2 separate regions of the Homo sapiens genome follow, and region 2 is linked to region 1. The links are contacts of gene promoters, found by promoter capture Hi-C in human tissues and cell types (Jung and others, 2019). All regions are on one chromosome and are shown on one strand. The core of a region is centred on a gene start or on the middle of the fragment in contact, and the rest is flanking DNA. Distances in the headings are between cores, read along the strand shown.

What was found. The method cuts DNA at HindIII sites, captures the fragments that hold promoters and counts their contacts. A contact is called where the count stands out against the background at its distance.
Region 2: the fragment with the promoter of NCR1 here is called in contact with the fragment with the promoter of LILRA2 in region 1 in 1 of the 25 tissues and cell types used here (adrenal gland).

Annotation. Positions count from the first base shown.
Region 1 is chr19:54,568,384-54,575,204 of GRCh38, forward strand. It overlaps LILRA2 (leukocyte immunoglobulin like receptor A2), which reads left to right and starts at 5,407. Exons shown (of 8, transcript NM_001130917.3): 1 at 5,407-5,529; 2 at 5,693-5,728; 3 at 5,918-6,199; 4 at 6,348-6,650. The coding sequence starts at 5,496. LOC107985347 (a long non-coding RNA gene) reads right to left here and starts at 4,445. Exons shown (of 2, transcript XR_002958419.2): 1 at 4,353-4,445; 2 at 1,008-2,910. LOC105372461 (a long non-coding RNA gene) reads left to right here. Exons shown (of 3, transcript XR_936073.3): 3 at 3,035-3,329. The HindIII fragment of the contact is 16,909 bases long and covers 1-6,821 here.
Region 2 is chr19:54,904,876-54,912,576 of GRCh38, forward strand. NCR1 (natural cytotoxicity triggering receptor 1) reads left to right here and starts at 1,273. Exons shown (of 7, transcript NM_004829.7): 1 at 1,273-1,346; 2 at 1,424-1,459; 3 at 1,648-1,932; 4 at 4,370-4,648; 5 at 5,143-5,190; 6 at 7,293-7,343. The coding sequence starts at 1,313. The HindIII fragment of the contact is 21,719 bases long and covers 1-7,701 here.

The sequences.
Region 1 (6,821 bases), core at 4,157-6,656:
AAGTGCCAACAATTACATGAACCCATTCCTAGATAGCAAGATAAGTAGATATAGATATGCACATATGTACATATATCGGTTCTGTTTCTCTGGAGAACACTTACAAATACATAATTTGATCATAGGAATGATTCTAGATGAACTGAATCTTAATATGTTTTGTCTACTGTTTCTGAGGTTTATGGAACTGGCTGTCTGATTAGATTTAAAGACATTAAGACAGTATGACAGAAACAGAAAGAGAAAGAAAGAGAAAGGAAGAAAGGAAGGAAGGAAGAAGGAAGGAAGGAAGTCTGTGATAGTCCGTGGCATGATGTGGCATTAGGGGTACACCACTAGATGCTCCTAATCCTACACTTATAAGGAACGAGAATCTGGGTGGCCTTGCATACACCTTTGAAGATTGTTGTCAAACTATTAAGTATAGTATGTGTGGCTGTTTTGTCATTGGATAAAGAGGTAAAGAAAAAGATGAGCCCAGAGATTAGAATTTCCAGTTCAAGCACCACTACATAAATATCTGAGGTTTCTATGTGTGCCCTGAAAGAGACTCTTATCATCTGTAGCTGTAGGGGTGAGATTGCTGAAAATCAAACCGAGAATCTCATCCTTGAAGTGGCTGTATTACAATTCAAGCGGAGTCCCCAGCCTCACAGGGTATCTACTGTTCAAGTAATGCCATTGGTCAGGAATGGGTGAGATCTTGAAAGATGGAATGAGGATGTATATTAAGACCCTGATACAGCTGAGGATATCAAGCCCCTAACTTTGAATGAGTCTTCTTTGCCAATAGAAGCATCCTCTCTATCTGCAAGGGAGGAGATTAACCCTGTACTGTCTGAGGAAACAATACTGGCCTCCCCTGAGGCAGTTGCCATGCAAGGCTATGCTGATTCTCCTTAGGATACATCCTGACCAACCCTCTTTGCTTCTAGACCTATAACTAGATTCAAGTCTCGCAGGCCCTGAAAAGTGTGTTACAAAGTGTGGCTCATGAGAAGTTGTGCTACACTCCAAAGTAATTTATTTATTTTTCTAATTTATCCATACAGAAGTCTGAGGAACACGTGTCAGAGTGGATATTAAGGGTTTAGGATAATGGTGAAAAGAACATAAAGTTGAGTCGGACCGAATTTATATATATAAGCTCACTAAACAGAGATTGCACATTTAATGTTGCATCTTGGAGAACCGGAAATGATTCTACCAGTTTGTCTGGTTGATTGGCTGAAACATGGAGCAAAAGCTGGCCTGCAGTAAATAAACTCAAAATGCCAGACATGCCTTGGTTTGCTGCAGAGGAATTAACTTAAAGGCTTAGGAAGACTGTAATGTTACCATGCATGTATCAAACCTAGTAACCCACATTGGAAGCATCAGAAGATGTATCTTTCAACAATATTGCAAAGGGAGCTCTGGCATCCTTGAGGAGCTCTGTGATTTCTCTTCTCTGGAAGCTGGAACCTACAGTGGAACTGCTGAATTTTAAAAAATCTAAATGTAATGGGAGTAATTTGGCCCCTACCTCTTGGCCCCCAGAGAGACAGGGGCCAAGTAGAGGAACTCAGCCACCAAAGGCAAGGTGGGTTTGGTTACCATGATGGACAGCAAAGTCAAACCAGCGATCGGAATAGTCCCGCAGACTTATGGTGTTGGCTAGTTGATCACGGCATTCTAACAAGGGAGATAGATAGGAAACCTACTAAATTCTCACTTGATCTGTATAAGCAGAAAATTTCTATGTCAAGTGAACAAAAGTCAACCCAAATCATAAAAGCAGAGAGCCACAGTCTCTCAATCAATGGCTAGCACTGAGTCAGTTCATAGAGCCAGAATCCCCTGAATTAAAGGGATCCCAGGCAGGGTTCCCGTGAGGGCACTGTCCCTGGTACACTACCAAGAATATATACTCTTAATCTTTCTCCTGGACTTTGGTTAAAGGGACCTGCAGCCTTTTACAATGGCAATGGAGCCTTGGGGAAAATAATCAGATAATTTGGGCATTACTGGAAATGGGGTATGAACTGACATTAATTCCAGGAGACCCGAAACGTCACTGTGGCCCTCCAGTCAGAGTAGTGGCTGCTAGAGGCAAGGTGATTGGTGGAGTTTGAGCTCACGTGTTCCATAGTGAATCCAGTGTATCCCTAAACCCACCCTGTGGCTGTATCCCCAGTTCCAGAGGGCAACATTGGAATAGACATATTCAACAACTATCACAACCCCCACAGTGGTTCCCTCACTTGTTGAGTGAGGGTTATTAGAGTGGGCCCAGTGGGAGCCACTAGAACTGCCTCTTCCCAGCTAAACTGTAAACCAAAAGCAGTCTTGCATTCCTGGAGGAATTCCATATATTGGGACTTGAAGCGTGCAGAGACAGTGATTCCCACAACCTTGCCATTCACCTCTCCTATTTTACCTCCACAGAAGACGCAGGGATCTTGGATAATGATATTAGATTATTGTAAGCTTAATCAGATCCAATTGAAGATGTTGTAACAGATGTGGTTTTGTAGTTTGAGCAAATTAATACATCCCCTGATACCCAGTATTCAGCCATTGATGTGTTAAATATTTTTTTCTCCATCACTGTTAATAAGAACCATCAGGAACAGTTTCCTTTCATTTGGCAAGGGCATCAGTACACCTTCACAGTCCTACCTCAGGGTCTGGGAAAGCACCTGGGGGTTGTGATCGGGGTCTCAGTGGCCTTCAGCTGGTGCTCTTCCTCCTCTTCTTTCTCCTCTGACACTGGCCTCAGGGCCAACACAGGACATTGGGTGAGTAGGAAGTTGGCGGGGAGACCCATGGGCTGACTGAAGGTGGGGTCAGGGCACCACCAACCAGACAGATTCCAGATGGGAAAGTTCAGCTCAGAAAAACGGCTCCAGCATTTCCCAGTGAGAAAACCTAGAAAGAAGAGAATAAATGTGAACATACATGAACATACCTTATTCTTTTGGTTGTTTCATCTAACGACGTTTTTAAAACATCTATGCAAGTGTGTTTTCAGCTTTCCTTCTTTTCTCTTGAGTTCTCTGTGCAGGGCAGGTGGCTCTCATGATCCCAAGGCTGAAGCTCTGTCCCTCTTCACCCAGCCCAGAGGGAGGCTGATTTCCAAAGTCCTGTGGGGACTGTGGAGTCAGAGAACGACAGAGGCCTGTGGAGGAGGTAATTCTGCCCGAAGACCCCAGACGCCCACCTACCCCCACAACCTCCTCACTGGCCCTCACACTCCCATGTCCTTCCCCGGGTCCAGCCCAGCTGCTGATGTCCAGGAAGAAAACTTCTGTGACAGGAAGAGGGGGGCACCTGAGGGTGGAGACAGAAGCCCCAAAGTTTCGGTAGCAATGATAGCAGGGGAAAAGGCTGAGAAGGGCTTGGGACTCTTTTATATAATATATAAATTAATATAAAAATTAATTCACCTTCACAATGTCTGTCTAATGCATTTCAACAACTGTCTGTGTTTTCCTCATGTATCTTGGTTGTCATTCCTGTGGGGCGGCTCCTCCCACGCACCTGACCTTTCATAAAGGGTTTCTCCCACGGCTGTCCAGGCATCAGCCTGATGAAGGGGATTGTTGCCGCTGCTCCTCCCCACTCCCCCAAACTCAGTGTCAGCTCAAGATTGTGCCCAGCAGGGATGGGACCAACGCCAGTCTCACACTCACCTGTGGGGCAGAGCAGACGCCCATGTCAGACCACCGTGGATTGAATCTGTTTCTCACACACAGGGGAGGGGCTGAGCACTGACCATGGCCTCCAGTGAGTGAGCAGAGACCCCCCAGCGCCTGTCCACACACACAGGGGAGGGGGAGCCACAGCTTCCAGCGTCACCCAGAGCCCTGACCCCTCCCTGCCTGGGAGGACGTGGGGTTCCTCTTCTGTCCCACACGGAGGTGGGAGCCTCCTCCTCCCTAATGACCCTGGGTGGTCCCAGACACCTGTGGCCACTCAGCATTGAACTCTGCTCATGGAAGGGGATGCGTCTCAATGTGAGGAACTGTTCTTCCTCTTTCTGTGCCCGTGGCTGTGATGATCTGCATATTTCAGATGTATCACAAGGAGAATTTCATGGTATTTGGAGCCGATGTGGGCTCTTGAGTGGGGGCGTCAATCATCCTCCTGGACTGTGGAGCCCAGCACCAGGATCCTCTCCCGTCCCCACCCTCCTGTCTGAACTGGTCTGGAAATTCACCATGGCTGAGCCTCCCATGTCCTGGGCACCACTGACCCCCACAGCCACTGTGATGAGTGGGGTTCACGACAGCAGGCTCAGAGGTGACATTCATGTCCAAAGTCACATAAACCCTGGATGATAATCAGGAATTAAATACAAATCAGCTCACCTTCCCCAGAATCAGATTACAGACCTAACAAATTCTTCTGAAAACTCTGAACATGGACGGAGGTGCCGAGGGAAGGCCAAGGACGCAAGGGACACTGAGGGGGCGGGACCGACTCAGAGCCTCATTCCCGGGGTGGGGGTGGGTGATGTTGCAACAAAGAGAAAAGGGGAAGTACAGGAGAGGGACGGTTTGGTAGGAAGGAAACACACACTCTCAAGACAGAACAAATATGTTTTATTATAGTTAATCCCTGCATTTCCCCTTTTGAGACAGGGTCTCACTCTGTCACTGAGGCTGGAATGCTAAGGGGTGATCATAGCTCCCTGCAGCCTCCGCCTCCCAGGCCGAAGTATTCCTCCCACCTCAGCCTCCTGAGTAGCTGGGACTAGAGATGTGAGCTGCCATGCCTGGCTAATTTTTTGCTTTTTTTATACAGACAAGGTCTTGCTATGTGGCCCAGGGTAATCTGAAGCTCCTGGCCTCTAGCCTTCACCCACCTCAGCCTCCTGAAGTGCTGGGATTCCAGGCATGAGCCACCATGGTAGACCCTGCATTACTCCTCTGTGCTCACTGCCACACGCAGCTCAACCTGAGCTACACAGCCAGGTGTCAGGTGCGTCTCTGCTGATCTGAGTCTAACTGCAGCATGGACCTGGGTTTTCCCTGAAGCATCTCCAGGGCTGGAGGGACGACCGCCATGGTAAGGACCCCGCAACGCTGAGCTGATGGACGGGCTGAAGGAGGGAGGGAGACCCCATGGGGAAGCTCTGAGAAGGAAGAGGAAGCCTCTGCTCACCCTCATCTGGAAGGGCAGACGCAGGAGGGCACCAGTTCTATTTGCTGCTACATCCCAGGTCTCAAGGAGATGAGGATAAACCAGACAGACAGTGGCTGGGGGGCAGGAAAGACCCCATTACAGTCTGAAATGTCTGCAGAGGGCCTGGTGCCTGCCCCCACCTCAGCCCTAAAGGTATGACAGCCAGGCTCCTGAGAGGGCAGTTGCACTTCCTGTGTGGTTGCACATAACAAAACCCCATGACAAGAAGGATCCAGCCTCCGAGTGTCCACACCCTGTGCGTCTCTCTGTCCTGCCAGCACTGAGGGCTCATCCATCCGCAGAGCAGGGCAGTGGGAGGAGACGCCATGACCCCCATCCTCACGGTCCTGATCTGTCTCGGTGAGATTTGAAGAGGGAGGGGAGCTTCTAACCTAGGAGGGACCTCACCCCACAGCCAAACTCTGGTCCCTAAGGAGACCCCAGGGGCTCACAAAGATCCCAGGGAGGGGAGGACCTGCCCAGGCTTCAGGGGAAAAATCCCTCACAGGGAACTCTCTTCCAGGGCTGAGTCTGGGCCCCAGGACCCACGTGCAGGCAGGTGAGTCTGTTCCCAGCTGTCCCAGGTCCCTCCTCCTCACTAGGGACAAGGGGCCACCCCCGTGCAGCTGGGGATGGGGAATAGCAGTTCTGGGCTGACTGATGGGGGTGTCTGGAGGGTCCTGCAGCTGAGAGCTGAGATCTGTTGGGTGGGAAATGACTTAGAATCCGACCTCTGATTTCCTTCCAGGGCACCTCCCCAAGCCCACCCTCTGGGCTGAGCCAGGCTCTGTGATCATCCAGGGAAGTCCTGTGACCCTCAGGTGTCAGGGGAGCCTTCAGGCTGAGGAGTACCATCTATATAGGGAAAACAAATCAGCATCCTGGGTTAGACGGATACAAGAGCCTGGGAAGAATGGCCAGTTCCCCATCCCATCCATCACCTGGGAACACGCAGGGCGGTATCACTGTCAGTACTACAGCCACAATCACTCATCAGAGTACAGTGACCCCCTGGAGCTGGTGGTGACAGGTGAGAGGACACTCAGGAGTCCCAGCCCCAGGCTCTGCCCTCAGGAAGGGGGTCGGCTCTCAGGGGCATCTCCGCTCTCACAGCTCAACCCTGGGGATGATGTGGGAGGTGGGAGCCCCATTTAACACAGTGCCTCCTTCTCTCCTAGGAGCCTACAGCAAACCCACCCTCTCAGCTCTGCCCAGCCCTGTGGTGACCTCAGGAGGGAACGTGACCCTCCAGTGTGTCTCACAGGTGGCATTTGACGGCTTCATTCTGTGTAAGGAAGGAGAAGATGAACACCCACAACGCCTGAACTCCCATTCCCATGCCCGTGGGTGGTCCTGGGCCATCTTCTCCGTGGGCCCCGTGAGCCCGAGTCGCAGGTGGTCGTACAGGTGCTATGCTTATGACTCGAACTCTCCCTATGTGTGGTCTCTACCCAGTGATCTCCTGGAGCTCCTGGTCCCAGGTGAGAAATTCACAGAATTGCTTGGAGTTCCCTGAGTCTCCCTGAGTCTCCAGGCAGGTGGGGAGCAGCCGCGTCTCAGGGCAGCTCCAGGTGGGATGATGTTGGGGCGAGAGGGCTCAGGGCTCCTGGGGCCGGAGACACAGGAAGATCAGCGGGGGAGAGGGAGGGTTT
Region 2 (7,701 bases), core at 23-2,522, 330 kb after region 1:
GCCTCTAGCTGCATCCATGTTGCTGCAAAGGACATAATCTTGTGATTTTTCAAGGCTGTATAGCGTTCTGTGGTGTATACATATCACATTGTCTTTATCCAGTCCACCTCTGATGGGACCTGGGTGGATTCCATGTCTTCACTATTGTGAATCCTGCTGCAATGAACATACAAGTGCATGTGTCTTTTTGGTAGAATGATTTATTTTCCTTTGGCTATATACCCAGCGATGGGATTGCTGGGCTGAATGGTAACTCTGTTTGTAGTTCTCTGAAATATCTCCAAACCAAACTGCTTTCCACAGTGGCTGAACTAATTTACACCCACCAACAGTGTATAAGTGTCCCCTTTGCTCCACAATCTCACCAGCATCTGTTAATTTCTGGCTTTTCAGTAATGGCCATTCTGACTGGTGTGAGATGGTATTGTTGAGGGATAATTTAGGAATCAGAGAGACCGAGGGGTTGAGGAGGATTTATTATTATTATTATTATTTAGGTGCACCGGCCCCAGTCAGATTAACATCCAAAAAGACTGAGGCTCGAACAGAGAGTCCGGTTACCTTTTAAGCATTTTGTGGGGTTGGGGGAGATCTGTGCAGGGGGAAGCATATTACAGAAGCAAGAAACAAAGGCAGTTATTCAATTGAGACATGCATCACATTATTCCTTACTTTTCAAGAAAAATATGTTTTACGACTTGAGGTTATCCTGTCTAGTGACCTTGCAGCCGCACGGCAAGAGAAACAGGGTCTTCACAATGCCTGGGAAAGGGAGAGATAAGGCTCACTAGCCACAGACAGAAAAACAGGCAGTTCATGTTTAAAGGACTCCACCTCTTTCTCTTCCTCGGGGGGAACTGGGTTTTCTTAAATACAACTGAGTTTTTGTTTACACATTCTGTAATTTCTTTTAATTCCTGTTCCAGTATCTCACTGTGAAACTCCCTATGTTTTTATACGATTCTCAGGGGGTTTCCTCTGGGCATGATTGGGCACAACTTCCCACAGTCAGCTCTGGGTACGACCTCCACATTGCAGAATTGAGAAGTTGACCCAGAAATGCATTTTGGGCTGAGCAGACAATTGTCAGAGTTGCTGGCTAGACCACAGATGTGTCAGAGGGACCACGGCCTTTCTGTAAGCTCATGGTCAGAGGCGGAGGGGAGTTGTGAACGTTCTGATGAAAGCAGTCAACGTGAAAGCGCTCTGGTGATGGGCGCTGGTGCTCACCCACCACTTCCTGTGTATCTATCTCCCTGGCCCGCCCGGCTCAGTCCCCACTGCTCAGCACTAGGCCGGCAGAATCTGAGCGATGTCTTCCACACTCCCTGCCCTGCTCTGCGTCGGTGAGTTCTGGCGTGGAAGGGGAATGGGATCACGGTGTGCCTGGGAGGCAACAGGTCTCATTACTCCCGTCTTCCAGGGCTGTGTCTGAGTCAGAGGATCAGCGCCCAGCAGCGTGAGTCCTTCCTTCAAAGCCCAGGGTCACTCTTCCGGATTCAGGCCAAGCTCCTTCCACCCAAGCACGGCTGGGGTGAGGGGACAGGGTGCTGGCTTCCCAGGAGAGCTTGGGGCCAGCAGCTGGGTGGAGCCTAAGGTTGGGGGGAGGGGGCTCCGCTGGAACTCCAGCCTCTGATTCCCTTCCAGAGACTCTCCCAAAACCGTTCATCTGGGCCGAGCCCCATTTCATGGTTCCAAAGGAAAAGCAAGTGACCATCTGTTGCCAGGGAAATTATGGGGCTGTTGAATACCAGCTGCACTTTGAAGGAAGCCTTTTTGCCGTGGACAGACCAAAACCCCCTGAGCGGATTAACAAAGTCCAATTCTACATCCCGGACATGAACTCCCGCATGGCAGGGCAATACAGCTGCATCTATCGGGTTGGGGAGCTCTGGTCAGAGCCCAGCAACTTGCTGGATCTGGTGGTAACAGGTAACTGTCCGGTTCTCTAACTGGAGAGTGATCTCAGTCTGCATCCGGGATGCAGCATCATCTATGAACTCTTCCAAGCCCCACTCAGACACTGCTTGTCTCGGTAGGAGGCTGGAAGGAGGGGTGATCCCCATCACAATCCTTGCCTACAAGGGGTTGTCTGCAGACCGTGTCTCTACGTCCTAGGAGCAGATGTGTCCTCAGTCAGTTTCTCCATGACACAGATTCTGAGATAGATATTTGTATGCAGGGGTATGACTGAGGAATGTCCTCAAAAACAATGCCTGTGGGCCAGGCGCAGTGGCTTACACTTTGCTTCCCTCACCCATCACAGGTGGTGGGTTTTTTTTTTTTTTATCTGTTTTGAGACGGAGTTTCGCTCTTGTCACCCAGGCTGGAGTGCAGTGGTGCAATCTCCAGTCACTGCAACCTCCACCTCCTGGGTTCAAGTGATTCTCCAGCCTCAGCTTCCCAAGTAGCTGGGATCACAGGCACCCACCACTACGCCACATTTTGTATTTTTAGTAGAGATGGGGTTTCACCATGTTGGCCAGGGTGGTGTCGAACTCCTGACCTCAGATGATCCGCCCGCCTCACCCTCCCAAAGTGCTGGGATTACAGGTGTGAGCCATCACACCCAGCCAGGTGGTGGTTTTCTAAAAAAAAAAAAAAATTAGCTTTTTTTTTTTTTTAACAATATGGTTGTTTATTATTATTATCAAGTATTATACATAGTTACATATACATACATAATTGTATGTGCTATACAATTAGGTTTGTTTATACCAGCAACACCAAAAACACATGAGCAATACTTTGTGCTAGGAAGGCTATGATGTCATCAGGCAATAGGAATTTTTCAGTTTCATTATAATCTTATGGGACCACCATCATATATGTGGTACATTGTTGGCCAAAATGTCATTATGCAGCTCACAACAGTATTTCATGTCCATTCAAATATCTTCTTTTGTGAAATGTCTATTTAAATCTTTTGCCTATTTTTAAATTGGGTTGCTTATATTTTGATTGATTAGGAAAAGTTATTTCTATATTCTGTGTCATATACTTGTGTTGAAATATATATATTTTTTGTCTGTGCCTTTTCATTTGCTCAGGGTCTTTGGACCTTGTTTGGAGGTTCTGGCAGGGGAACACAGCTACTCATTTATTCTTTTTTTTTTAATTTTTTTAGTATTTATTGATCATTCTTGGGTGTTTCTCGGAGAGGGGGATTTGGCAGGGTCATAGGACAATAGTGGAGAGAAGGTCAGCAGATAAACATGTGAACAAAGGTCTCTGGCTTTCCTAGGCAGAGGTCCCTGCGGCCTTCCGCAGTGTTTGTGTCCCTGGGTACTTGAGATTAGGGAGTGGTGATGACTCTTAAGGAGCATGCTGCCTTCAAGCATCTGTTTAACAAAGCACATCTTGCACCGCCCTTAATCCATTTAACCCTGAGTGGACACAGCACATGTTTCAGAGAGCACGGGGTTGGGGGTAAGGTCATAGATTAACAGCATCCCAAAGCAGAAGAATTTGTCTTAGTACAGAACAAAATGGAGTCTCCTATGTCTACTTCTTTCTACACAGACACAGTAACAATCTGATCTCTCTTTCTTTTCCCCACATTTCCCCTTTTTCTATTCGACAAAACCGCCATCGTCATCATGGCCCGTTCTCAATGAGCTGTTGGGTACACCTCCCAGACGGGGTGGCGGCCGGGCAGAGGGGCTCCTCACTTCCCAGACGGGGCGGCCGGGCAGAGGCGCCCCCCCACCTCCCAGACGGGGCAGTGGCCGGGCGGGGGCTGCCCCCCAACCTCCCGGACGGGGCGGCTGGCCGGGGCTTTTTTTTTTTTTTTTGAGACAGTCTCGCTGCAGTGCAGTGGTACAATCTCAGCTCACTGCAACCTCTGCCTCAGCCTCAATTCTCCTGCCTCAGCCTCCCAAGTAGTTGAGATTACAGGCATGTGCCACCACACCCGGCTAATTTTTGCATTTTTAGTAGAGACGGGGTTTCACCATGTTGACCAGGCTGGTCTCAAACTCCTGACCCAGGAGGTCGAGGCTTCAGTAAGCAAAGATAGTGCCACGGCGCTCCAGCCTGGGAAACAGAGCAAGACCCTGTATCATTTTTAAAAATGGTTTTAGACGGTAAATCTTCTATTGTGTGTATTTGACCAAAATAATAATTAAAAAAAAAAAAAAAAGCTGGCTGCCAGGCATGGTGGCAGGCCCCTGTAGTCCCAGCTACTTGGGAGGGTGAGGCAGGAGAAACGCTTGAACCCGGGAGGCGGAGGTTGCAGTGAGCCAAGATCGTGTCACTGCACTCCAGCCTGGGCGACAGAGAGAGACTCCATCTCTAAAGAAAGAAAAAAAAAAATAGCTGGCTGCTCATCACTGAGTTTCTGGTGTGGTGGCCCCACCTTCTCTCATAGAAATGTATGACACACCCACCCTCTCGGTTCATCCTGGACCCGAAGTGATCTCGGGAGAGAAGGTGACCTTCTACTGCCGTCTAGACACTGCAACAAGCATGTTCTTACTGCTCAAGGAGGGAAGATCCAGCCACGTACAGCGCGGATACGGGAAGGTCCAGGCGGAGTTCCCCCTGGGCCCTGTGACCACAGCCCACAGAGGGACATACCGATGTTTTGGCTCCTATAACAACCATGCCTGGTCTTTCCCCAGTGAGCCAGTGAAGCTCCTGGTCACAGGTGAGGAAATGCTCAATTCCCCACACCCTTCGCCGCCATGTGCTACCTGGAGCCCTGAGGGATCCCCAGAGAGTGATGGGGAGGGTGTCCAAGGGACGTCCACTTCCTGGGTGCCTGGTTGGTCATGTGAGGAAGAACACCAGAAGCAGGAAGGAGGAGGGAACAGAGAAAGGAATGGTAAGGCGGGTGGATCACAAGGTCAGGAGTTCGAGACCAGCCTGGCCAAGACGGTGAAACCCCGTCTCTACTAAAAATACAGAAATTAGCCAGACGCAGTGGCGGACACCTGTAGTCCCAGCTACTCAGGAGGCTGAGGCAGGAGAATCGCTTGAACCCGGGAGGCGGGGGTTGTAGTGAACCGAGATCATACCACCGCACTGCAACCTGGGCGACAGAGCAAGACTCCATCTCAAAAAAAAAAAAAAAAAAAAAAGAATGGCAAGACCGGAGGAAACCAAAAACCCTTACTTTTTTTTCTTTATCTCCTTTTCCAGGCGACATTGAGAACACCAGCCTTGCACCTGAAGACCCCACCTTTCCTGGTGAGTAACTGGTCCTTCTAAGCTCAGACGAGCGATCAGAGCCTCCCAGTGACACTAAAAACGTGGCATTCATTCAAAATATTCATCGAGGCCAGGCGTGGTGGCTCACGCCTGTAATCCCAGCACTTTGGGAGGCCGAGATGGTGCATCATTTGAGGTCAGGAGTTTGAGACCAGCCTGGCCAACATGGCGAAACCCTGTCTCTACTAAAAATACAAAACTTAGGCTGGGCATCATGGCTCACACCTGTAATCCCAACACTTCGGGAGGCCAAGGTGGTTGGATCACAAGGTCAGGAATTCGAGACCAGCCTGACCAACATGGTGAAACCCCATCTCTACTAAAAATACAAAAATTAGCCGGGCCTGGTGGTGCTCGCCTGTAATCCCAGCTACTCAGGAGGCTGAGGCAGGAGAATTGTTGAACCTGGGATGCAGAGGTTGCAGTGAGCTGAGATCGCGCCACTGCATTCCACTCCACTGCACGACACAGCGAGACTCCATCTCACAGAAAAACAAAAACAAAACTATTATATATATATATTCATCAAGTGCATAGTATACACAGTGAACTACACTGTAACAGTCAGCCAGGCAGATATCTTGACTGTGCAGCACTTAGATTCTAGCAGGAGGAGACACACCATCGGTCAACGTCAGGATAGCACACAGGAGGGAATGATGCTATGGAAGGAAAAGACAAAGTAGAACAGACTTACAGTGATTGAAATGGCAGCTAGCAATATTAAATAGGTTTGTCCAGATGGACCTCACAGAGAAAGAAGGCATCTGAGCAAATGCGTTCAGACTTGAGTTAATCATGTGGCTGTCAGGAGAAAGGAGGCTCTGGAGAGAATGAAATGGCATCTGCCTGTGCCCTGGGGCAGGAAGATAACTGGGGTAATACAATAATAACTATGAGGCCAGGAGGGTTGAAAATGATGTTTGGAAGATGACGGTGGGATGGGCCTGGGGCGCACGGCTAGGATTACAGGAGTGAGGCCCGGCGCGGTGGCTCACGCCTGTAATCCCAGCACTTTGGGAAACCGAGGCAGGTGGATCATGAGGTCAGGAGATCAAGACCATCCTGGCTAACACGGTGAAACCCTGTCTCTACTAAAAAAAAATACAAAAATTATCCGGGCGTGGTGGCGGGCGCCTGTAGTCCCAGCTACGCAAGAGGCTGAGGCAGGAGAATGGCGTGAACCCGGGAGACGGAGCTTGCAGTGAGCTGAGATCGCGCCACTGCACTCCAGCCTGGGCGACAGAGTGAGACTCCGTCTCAAAAAAAAAGAAAAAGAAAAAGAAAAAGAAAAAAAAATAGTGAGACTTTGAATTTCACTATGTGTGAGGAGAAAGAGGTAATGATGACTTAATGAGGAAAATGAGGCTTAAATAGAAGACGGGCTGGGCCGGGTGGCTCCTGCATGTAATCCCAGCACTTTGGAAGGCAGGGGCGGCTGGATCACTTGAGGTCAGGAGTTCAAGACCAGCCTGGCCAACACAGTGAAACCCCATCTCTACTAAAAATACAAACATGAGTTGGGTGTGGTGGCGCACGCCAGTAATTACAGCTACTCGGGGCTGAAGCAAGAGGATTGCTTGAACTCGGGAGGCGGAGGTTGCAGTGAGCTGAGATCACACCACTGTACTCCAGCCTCAGAGGCCTGCCATCCCAGCCCTTTGGGAGGCCGAAGCAGGCAGGTCATCTGAGGTTGGGAGTTCAAGACCAGCCTGGCCAACATGGCAAAACCCCGTTTCTACTAAAAATATGAAAAAAATTACCTGGGTATGTGGTGTGTGCCTGTAGTCCCAGCTACTCCAGAGGCTGGAACACAGTGAGACTCTATCTCAAAAAAAAAAAAAATAGAAGACATGACTGGTGCAAAGACACATGCTCACAAGTGCTAGAATGGAATTCCTCGTCAGGTTCGTCCATCTGTGGACCCTTCCACTTTACCTGCTGGATGAAGCTCCTGGGACCCGCAGGGTGAGGTGGGACCTTGTAAAGCTGCAGAACGTCATGGGGTAGACCCAAGGGAAGGAGTGCTGGGGTGGAGGAGGTCAAAACCATCCTCTTTTCTTCACTTCCCTTATCATCAGCAGACACTTGGGGCACCTACCTTTTAACCACAGAGACGGGACTCCAGAAAGGTAAGTAGACAGCTGGGGCCATAGGCTCTGAAGGAAGGGGCTGGGCATAGAGTAGACCTAGGAAGGGAATCTAAATGGGAACAAGAGGGTGTCCTTGGCCAGGCGCAGTAGCTCACACCTGTAATCTCAGCCCTTTGGGAGGCCGAGGCGGGCAGATCATCTGAGGTCGGGAGTTCAAGACCAGTCTGGCCAACATGGCGAAATCCCATCTCTACTAAAAATACAAAAAAATTAGCCAGGCGTGGTGGCGTGTGCCTGTAGTCCCAGCTACTTGGGAGGCTGAGACAGGAGAATAGCTTGAACCCAGGAAGTGGAGGTTGCAGTGAGCCGAGATCGTGCCATTGCACTCCAGCCTGGG